Linked DNA regions of Homo sapiens: all the other regions are linked to region 1. Evidence: promoter capture Hi-C in human tissues and cell types (Jung and others, 2019). All regions are on one chromosome and are shown on one strand. Each heading gives the region's core, a stretch centred on a gene start or on the middle of the fragment in contact. The rest is flanking DNA. Distances are from core to core; before and after follow the strand shown. Region 1 holds the start of LUZP1 (leucine zipper protein 1). Region 2 overlaps TCEA3 (transcription elongation factor A3). Region 3 overlaps KDM1A (lysine demethylase 1A).

Region 1 (3,197 bases), core at 293-2,792:
AACTGCAGCCGTCTGTAAAAGAAATACCCTGAGCAAACCCCACCCCTCAAAACATCCCCAAAAGGCAGGGAGGTCCAGAGAGTATTTTCTCCTCCAACGACAGATAAGGCACCAAGGGCTCAGCAGCGCAATCCTTCTCCCAAGGTCATTCAAGTCAGTGAAGGTGCGACGGTGGAGCTGCAGGCAGTCTGGCCTTCTGGAAATCACACTACAGGGGTTTTGGGGGTGCCTACTCTCTTCCCCTCTCCCACCCGCAAGGGTGAGCACTGGCCTCGGCATTCCCGAAACAAGCCACAACAAGCTCTGCAGTGTTAGGAAAGGGGTTGACGCGATGAAGAAACAGATGCTCCAAAGCAAGATGGTCTTTCTCGGCTCACAGAGGCTCCTCCAAGGTTATGCACAGAAACCGCAGCCACCTCCAAGAGCTCTAAACCGGGCTCCGAAGCCCCAGCGCGGCCGCTGCGGGTCGCCAGGTTCCCTGCAGGCAGGCTCCGCAGCCAGAGGCCACCAGCCCCAGAAACCGCACTTCATTCCTGCGCTCCGGGAAGCCATGGCTCCTTCCCTGCCCGGGCGGCTGGGCGGGGGCCGGGGGTGCGCCGGGAGGCGGGCCCCGCGCTGCGGAAAGTTCACCGCGGCGGGCGGGGGGAGGCCCCGGCCCCGCTCGCCGGCGTCCCCCTGCAGATTCCACCATTAATTAGTCCTAAGGACTGTCTACTGGCAACTTAAACAAAGCGAATGCCTCGAATTCCTTCCCGGCCCAGCGGTCTGGCTGCGAGACCAGCAGAGCGCCCGGGACGCGGGCCGGCGCGGCCGACAGCTGCGGCGGCCGCGGGACCCCTCCCCGCCCGGCCCGCGGCCCGCGCCCCGCGCCCGCAGCTGGCCCCGCACGCCGGCCCGACGCGCTCCCAAACCGCCCTCCTCCTCCTGCTGCTGCAGCTCCCGGGCCCTTCCTGTCTGATCACTTCCTTCCTCCGGTGCCCGCCGGGCCCCGCGCAGCCCCCTCCACGGCCGCCTCGTCGCCCCCCGCCCCTGTCGGCCCGCGCCCCCTCCCCCAACCCCAAACTCTACCCCCGAAACTCTTCGCCGCCCCCTCGAAAATGTCTCCTCCGCGTCTCTGCCCCAAACATTTCTCCTCAGAGTCTCGCTCCCACCAAGAAGTCTCCTCAGAACCTTCCCTCCCCCTCCCGAGGAAAAATCTCCTCAGAGTCTCTTCCTCCAACTCCACAAACATGTGCTGGGTCTCGCCCCAAAAGGTCTCCTCCTGAGCCCTTCCTCCAAAATCCATTCCAACTCTCCCCCAACTCCACACCCCATCTCTCCTCGGCTGCGCCCGCGGTTTCTTCTGCCCCGTGGCCGCGGGTGCCCCGACCTCACCCGGGACCGGCCTCCCAACCCCGCCGCCCTCCCCTCCCCGCGCCGCGCTCCCGCCGCCGCCGCCTCACGGACCCTCACCTCTGCGGCCCCGAACCGCGCTCCCGCCAGCGAAGGGTTCCGCCGCTCAGCTGCCAGCGACCGGCGCCTCCTCTGGCTCCGCGGGACTGACAATGAGGGGCGGGGCCAAATTGTGACGTCAGCGTTCTGGAAGGCGGGGTCTTTGTGATGGGCGGGGTTGTCTGTAGGCCCCGCCCCCTCCGTCCTTTTTTTCCCTTCCCAGGACTTAGACTCCACCAAGTTTTTATTGCCTCCGTAGCTGGGTCCTGTGCTAGGCGCCCTGGGAAATCGAAATGGAAGACAAGACTTCTCGATTTCAGGAGGGACACTTTCGGCCCGCGTGGTGGCTCAAGTCTGTAATCCCAGAACTTTGGGAGGCTGAGGCGGACGGATCGCTTAAACTCAGAAGTTCGAGACCAGCCTGGGCAACATGGCGAAACCCCATCTCTATAAAAAATACAAAAATTAGCCGGGAGTGGTGGCGCCCGCCGGTAAGCTAAAGTAGGAGGATCGCTTGAGCCGAGGGAGGTCGAGGCTGCAGTGAGCCGTGATCGTGCCACTGCACTCCGGCGTGGGTGACAGAGTGAGACCCTGTCTCAAAAGAAAAAGAAAAAAGCGGGACACTCTCAGTAGGGTTGTGAGGATTAAATGAGATAATCAATGGAAAGGTGCTTAGCCTAGAACCTGATATGGAATAATCACTCAACAAATCCTATTTCTATTACTCTGCAAATGCAGAGAAGGAACTCAGCTCAGACTCGGGAGGCATGGGTTCCCGTCCCCCACTGTGCTATTAATTCTTTGTGTGATGCTAGACAAGTACTTTCCCATCTATGTTCCCGATTTTCATCTTCTTTAAAATGGGAAGGGGGAATAACCAGATGATCTCAAAATCCCCTCCCATACTTCTATGACATACTTCCTTTAAGTCTACTATCTAAAAGGCACCTAGTGCCCTGAGAAGCCAGGAGGAAGGCTTCAAAGACAGCCCAAGACCCACACCCAGCATAGTACAGGACACAGCCAGAGACTGCTCTCGCTGCGGATGCCCTCCCACACGCTGGCACGCAGCAGCATTCACAAGCCAGGACACAGATGGGCTGAGGGCTGCTTCCTCTCTGACTACAGCAGCATGGTTGGTCTCTTGAGACATCTCTTGTGTAAGCTCTTTATTGCCTATGGAATAAAGGCCAAAGCCCTGGCCTGGTATGATCACTTCCTACCTTTACACACACACACACACACACACACACACAAAGTTTATCCAAACTTCTCTTAGCACACCCACTGCTTTCCCACATTTGACCCTTTGCTGAAGCTCTTCCCCTGCTGTCTCACCTCCCAGCTTCTCCCAGCCAGAAAGCAATCCTCCCTGTTCTGAATAACCAATAACATTGTGTTTAACCCTCACGTGGGCATGAACACTACAACTTATAAAGAACTGACCTCCCATTTGTTTCTTAGCACTTCCTGGAGGTCAGAACCCACACATGTTTGTGGAGCTCAAGCTCTGATGCCAGAAAACCCTGGGATCATATGTTCTGGGGTCATAATAGCCATCTCTGAGCCTGTCTTCTCATCTATAAAATGGGGATAATAATATAGTCTTGTGGTGTTTGTTTTAAAATTACCTAAGATACTGTATGGAAAACATCAGGCACAGTGTTCCACAAACAATATGAACAATATGATTGTCATTCTTATTTTCTTTTTCTTTCTTTTTTTTTTTTTTTTTTTTTGAGACGAATTTTCTCTCTTGTCGCCCA
Region 2 (3,197 bases), core at 229-2,728, 220 kb after region 1:
AAAGAAGTGAGGCACAGGAAGCGCATCACTCCACACGGAAAGGTGCTTGGGAGAGAGCAGAAGCTTGCACAAACATCTCCGGATTCCAGAACTGGAATTCTCCAAGGGACTCCTCCGGAATGGCAAGGCTGACTGCATTTCTGCCCTGGCCACAGAATGCCGCAGGCAAGGTGCTCTTGATAAATGGTGTGTGCCGAACAGACGGAGAACTCTGAATAGAGTTCTAGAATGACTAGACACCAGTTAGAATCCAAGGATATTTGTGCTCTAAGGGCATACCATGTGCAACCCAGAAAGAGGAGGCCATTCTCTGGTTTTAAGAGAAGGGGCCTCCACAGCCTTCCCAAGTTCCCCATGCCAGGGCAATGGTCTTCAACTTTAGGACTCAGAGCTAAAGCCCTTAGGCTTTATTGACCAAGTTAGCTGGATTGCAGGCAGAATGGTGTGGATCTTGTTTATTACTACCTCTGACATTGGCCTCCTTTCTTGGGCAAGGCTAAAAAGCCCATCTGTGGCCTGTGTGGGCCTCAGTTTCCCTGGGTGTGTAATGAGGGAGCTGGGTTTCACATTGCCAAGTTCCCTTCCAACTGTCTATGACTCTTCAGCCGCCATGAGTCTGATTCTTCTTATTGTCACGTCAGGGCAGACCAGAACACACTGACCAAGCCTCGTAGACACATAGCAGGGATGATTCTAAACTCAGAGGAACATTGTCTAGAAGCCACAGGTGCACCACATTAGTGTACCAAGGCTTGCCCTTCTCTCTGCAGCCTGGAGAGTTTTTAAGGTTTTCTTTGTTTTGTTGAGTCAGGGTCTCATTCTGTCACCCAGGCTGGAGTGCAGTGGTGCAATCATAGCTCATTGCAGCCTCAATTCACTGTAGCCTCAACCTCCTGGGCTCCAGTGATTCTCCTGCCTCATCGCCACCCATTTCCCCCGCATCCAGTAGCTGGGACTACAGGCACACACTACCAAGCCTGGCTAATTTTTGTATTTTTAGCAGAGATGACGTTTCACCACGTTGCCCAGGCTGCTCTCAAACTCCTAGGCTCAAGCAATCTGCCTGCCTCGGCCTCCCAAAGTGCTGGGATTACAGGCGTGAGCCACTGAGCTGGCCCAGCCTAGAGAGGTTTTCTTTTTGTTGTTTGTTTGGTTTGAGACAGAGTCTCCCTCTGTCGCCCAGGCTGGAGTACAGTGGTGCAATCTCGGCTCACTGCAGCCTCCACCTCCCAGGTTCCAGTGATTCTCCTGCCTCAGCCTCCAGGGTAGCTGGGATTACAGGCACGTGCCACCATGCCTGGCTAATTTTTTTTTTCTTTCAGATGGAGTCTCACTCTGTCGCCCAAGCTGGAGTGCAGTGGCATGATCTCGGTTCACTGCAAGCTCCACCTCCCGGGTTCACGCCATTCTCCTGCCTCAGCCTCCTGAGTAGCTGGGACTACAGGTGCCCGCCACCACACCCTGCTAATTTTTTGAATTTTTAGCAGAGACGGGGTTTCACCGTGTTTGCCAGGATGGTCTCAATCTCCTGACCTCGTGATCCGCCCGTCTTGGCCTCCCAAAGTGCTGGGATTATAGGCGTGAGCCACCGCGCCCGGCATTTTTGTATTTTTAGTAGAGATGGGGTTTCACTGTGTTGGCCAGGCTGGTCTCAAACTCCTGGCCTCAGGTGATCCACTCGCCTTGGCCTCCCAAAGTGCTGTGATTACAGACATGAGCCACCGCACCCGGCAAAGCCTAGAGAGTTTTAACGCTTTCTCCCCTCTGGCTCTTCCCTAAGCTTCTCTCTGATTTTCCACCTCTATGCCCCTGCGGCCTCCTGCACCTCCGGCCCGTCCCCTCACTGTCCTTACCTGGTTATAGGTGCAGTTCTTCTTCTTGCATTTGCTGCACTGGAAGAGGTCAGTGGTGGTGCCGCCAGTCTTGGCCATCTGGTGCTCACGGATGGCCTCCTGGGTCATGGCATTCCTCAACTCCCTCAGTTCATCACTGGCCATTTCCTGGAGAAAAAAGAGTCTACCCTTCAGGGCTGAGGAGTTTCAGGGGCCCTGCCCTACACCCGGTTTCTAGAAAGCCTGAACAGAAAAGGAGGTAACATGCTTTATTGACTGCAAGGAGCTGGAAGGAGGCCTGGATTCCGGGTCCTGCCCCAGCTGGGAGAAAGCTGTCCCCGCAGAGTCCTCCTGCCGCCCACGGCTGGAAGGTCATAATGCACATTCAGGTGAGCAGCAGGCAAACAGCCTCTGCCCGAGGACGAGCACTCCTGTGTACATTTCTTCAGATCTGGGGCTCATCCTGCCTGCCAGGACCTTGGCCTTGGCCTGAACCTTCCTGCTTGAGCTGACTTGATCACTGCCACCTGGTCTATGATGTTCCCCTTAGCCTTCCTCTCTAGACTTGACCCAGTGCTCTTTTACGCTGTGATCACTGCCCTGCTGTTCTGCTTAGTGGGAACCTTGGCGCAACTACCCATGACTTGCTGCTGCTACCCCCATCCTGAAGCTCCTGGGCTCACACAACTAACTGTTCATCTGATGAGCATGCATCCAAGATCATCTTTTTCTGAGAGTTTCTACAGAAGAGTCTCCAGTCTCCCACCAGCTCACAGTAGACACTCCGGGTCTGCATCACCCACACCTTTGCTTTCTCTGTCCATCTCCCTGGCCACTTGTCTCCCCTTAAGCCTCTGCCAGAGGACAGCAGAGAGGGAGCTCCAGTTAAGGGTTGGTGGAAGGGGAAGGAGGGTGGCTGACGCGAATCTCAAAATGAGGATTTTAAACTTTTTTTTTTTTTTTTTGAGATGGAGTCTCGCTCTGTCACCAGGCTGAAGTGCAGTGGTGCGATCTCGGCTCACTGCAACCTCCACCTCCTGGGTTCAAGCGATTCTCCTGCCTCAGCCTCCCGAGTAGCTGGGACTACAGGCTCATGCCACCACACCCAGCTAATTTTTGTATTTTTAGTAGAGACGGGGTTTCACCATATTGGCCAGGATGGTCTCGATCTCCTGACCTTGTGATCCACCCACCTCATCCTTCCAAAGTGCTGGGATTACAGGTATGAACCACTATGCCTGGCTTAAACATTTTAATTGTTGCTGTCTGTCCTGAGTCCTTAAACCATGGAGAAGAATGCTGGCATAAAGGTCAAAGCATTTTAGTGTGCTCACCTTTCATTATAACCACTTAGGCTTCTTGATA
Region 3 (3,197 bases), core at 395-2,894, 140 kb before region 1:
CAAGCCCCACCTGAGGAAGAAAATGAAAGTGAGCCTGAAGAACCATCGGGTGAGTTGTAGTATCCAACCACAGTTCTGTTTTATCTTAGAAATAAGAATGAATGGATTTATTTCCATTTTGCAATATTATTTATGTCTTTATCTTTGGTTTATAATAAAGTCTGATATTGAGTCTCCTGCCATGTGTGTCTTTGTGTGTGTGTATACATATACATGTATATGTGTGTATGTATACACATAGATACGTACATACTGGTACTGATACTCTTTTTGTGTGTCTGTACATATACAGGAGGAAAGTAAAGGGTGGGAATGGAAGGACAGTGGCAATATAAGGTGGTTGGAAAGTAGGAGAAAATAAATGATTAGAAAAAACATACAGAAAGCCATATCCAAAGCACCAGACCTCTCAATGACAGTTCTGATTCAGAAATTGTTCTGGCTAAATGATGTGTTTACCACGTAGTTAGATACTTTCTGATAAAACTTCCACGGTGTGGATCGGTTTTGAGAAGTGCCTTTTCCTGGTGAACAAATGTAAAAATATATATAGGCCAGAAAATCTAGAAAGATTATGGGAGTCTATAGTTTTGGTTTCAGAGCTTCAAACAGCTTTAAAGAATTCTCACTAACATCCCCTCAATGCTGAGTACTAGCTTTCTGAGGATGGCTGGACCAATCAGGGATATCTGCCTTTCTGTTTTGGAGAGACCAAGCAAAAGCAGTATTTTAATGAATTTTTGTATCTTGTGCCCTTAATGACATTTTATTTACTCTTTTTGACTTTGAATTTTTACTAAGTTCCTCTTCTTGAAATAATTTTTATGTTTCGAATAGCTTCAGACCCACACACCTCTCTGGTTCTTTTAGTCCTGTACCTTTTAAAAACAAAATGGTGGTTTCAGACCCCATCTGCTATATCTTGCATGACTTTCGTAGGTACCCAGATTAAGACATACTTCATTTGAGATGTTTTATCTTTTGTTTTAGCCTTTTTTTTTTAAGGGTTTTCTCCCCTATGGTGTTACTGTGAATTACCAGAAGCAGTACTGATGCTTCACTTTAGGGCATTACCAGTCAAGTGTTAACTTAGGTTTGGAGCTTATCAAAGTCTGGCTAAAACTTAAAAATCAAATTTATAATTTATAGGATTGTAATAAAGTGTACTAAAGGAATACAGTTTGAGAACATTCAGAAAAAGATTCTGGTTTCAGTTCATTCAAAAGTCAGGGATTTTCTAAGAAGAGTGGTTTTCCTAAAACTTTCTTAAAATGATTTCTTGGGCAACTCCTTGTTTGAAGGTTTCTAGTTTCAGTAGTATATTACCTTTGGGGCTAATGTCCCAGGCAAATGTAGCTGCCTTTTTACTTTACACCTCTCGTTATTCATTTTTCTTCTTCCTCTTTCTAGTCTTATACATTTAGCTCTCTTCCTTCTGTTCTTACCTCCAACCTTTCCCTTCACCCTGTGCTCTTTTCTTCTGTGTTCTTTTTGGTTCTTACCTTTCTTCTACCTTTGCTGTAGACCTGCTAATGAGATACTTGGGGATAACCCTTTTAATGTCTGCGGTGGCTCAAGAGTGGGCTGACTTCTTAGTTCAAGGGCTCTAAGTACTACGCATTGATGATCTGATATCTCAGATGCTGCCTCACCTTTTTTGTGTGGTTGTGTCTCCAGTAAATAATTGATTTACCATAGGTTCCAAGTTGATAAACGTTTCTTTGAAAATTTTAAACCATGTGTTGGTGTTGCTGTTTGCTTTTTTCTGAAAGCTTTTTTTTTTTTTTAATTTCATAAACGTCAGGTATTGTTCCCACAAAAAGTAAACGTCTTAGCAAAAGGATTTAGGATTTGGGAGCTGTCTTTATTGTGTTGTAGTTAATTATAATGCAGTGGTTTAGTTTAAGTTATCTTTGTTTTTGGGGGGACGTTAAAATTTTAAGTTGAGGATATCTTCAATGCTTAGAAATGTGCTGATAACAGCCAGAACTTACTAATATATTATTTGTGGTTATGAAAATAGTGATTCTTCCTTTAAAACAACTTAATGTTTTTTTTGAAAATTTCTGGGGTGAATTAGGGATGTACTTTCCCTAGAAAAAAGTGTCAACTTACTAGCCTAAACTACTTATGTAGTTTAGCAATAGATTGGACCCTGATGGTGAATCATAAAATATTATCAGGTGAGTTAAATATTTGGACACTGTGCAGGGTTTCTAAGTCTTTTGTCTTTCACAAGAGTTTTTAGTCAAAAATTGAACGGAAGCATTGCTATATGACTATATTAAAAGCTTGAGAGAAGATATAGGTTTGTTTCGTTTTGATATTTTTGGAGACGGAGTCTCGCTCTGTCGCCCAGGCTGGAGTGCAGTGGCATGATCTCGGCTCACTGCAACCCCTGCCTCCCGGGTTAAGCAATTCTCCTGCCTCAGCCCCCTGAGTAGCTGATTACAGATGTGCGTCACCACGCCCAGCTAATTTTTGCATTTTTAGTAGAGACAGGGTTTCACCATGTTGGCCCACCTTGGCCTCCCAAAGTGCTGGGATTACAGGCATGAGCCACCATGCCTGGCCTGTGGGTTTGTTTCTCTACCAAACCTTTTCTTGTTCTCAGTCTTTTTAAAAGGCAATCACTAGAAATTATTCTGTCAAAAAATATAGGTTAGGGCCAGGCGCGGTGGCTCCCAGCACTTTGAGAGGCTGAGGCAAGCGGATCACCTGAGGTCAGGAGTTCGAGACCAGCATGGCCAACATAGTGAAACTCTGTCTCTACTAAAAATAGAAAAATTAGCCAGGTGTAGTGGCACGTGCCTGTAATCCCAGCTACTTGGGAGGCTGAGGCAGGAGAATTGCTTGAACCCGGGAGGCAGAGGTTGCAGTGATCTGAGATTGTGCCACTGCACTCCAGTCTTTGTGAGAGCAAGACTCCGCCTTAAAAAAAAATCCAAAAAACAAAACAAAACAAAAAAGTAAGGTTTGCATACATTTCATTCTTACCAACTTTTAAATTTGTTTAGAAATTTTTGCTTTGCTTTCTGCAGTGTGTTAATCTTAACAGGAAGTAAATATTTTGTTAATTATGAAAGCACAAGGTATTCTGAAGTCAGTGGGTCAAATTGACTGAATAAGGTTCCTCTGGGAGAGTACTGAGAGGAAGCCAGAATGGTGGGAGCCATATTGTGAATAGCCTTGGTTGA

Evidence for each region. Contacts are between HindIII fragments. The study calls those that stand out against the background at their distance.
Region 2: a fragment that was not itself captured here is called in contact with the fragment with the promoter of LUZP1 in region 1 in 1 of the 25 tissues and cell types used here (psoas muscle).
Region 3: a fragment that was not itself captured here is called in contact with the fragment with the promoter of LUZP1 in region 1 in 3 of the 25 tissues and cell types used here (dorsolateral prefrontal cortex, spleen and thymus).

Annotation. Positions count from the first base shown.
Region 1 is chr1:23,167,314-23,170,510 of GRCh38, forward strand. LUZP1 (leucine zipper protein 1) reads right to left here and starts at 1,543. Exons shown (of 4, transcript NM_001395462.2): 1 at 1,453-1,543. RefSeq lists enhancers at 249-780, 781-1,312, 2,388-2,437 and silencers at 552-691, 1,683-1,742. The HindIII fragment of the contact is 15,099 bases long and covers 1,335-3,197 here.
Region 2 is chr1:23,385,420-23,388,616 of GRCh38, forward strand. TCEA3 (transcription elongation factor A3) reads right to left here. Exons shown (of 11, transcript NM_003196.3): 9 at 1,854-2,000. Among named protein-coding and RNA genes, the nearest start is that of ZNF436, 17 kb to the left of the region's middle. The HindIII fragment of the contact is 6,654 bases long and covers 1-3,197 here.
Region 3 is chr1:23,030,586-23,033,782 of GRCh38, forward strand. KDM1A (lysine demethylase 1A) reads left to right here. Exons shown (of 21, transcript NM_001009999.3): 2 at 1-49. Among named protein-coding and RNA genes, the nearest start is that of MIR3115, 12 kb to the right of the region's middle. RefSeq lists an enhancer at 2,594-2,643. The HindIII fragment of the contact is 3,399 bases long and covers 1-3,197 here.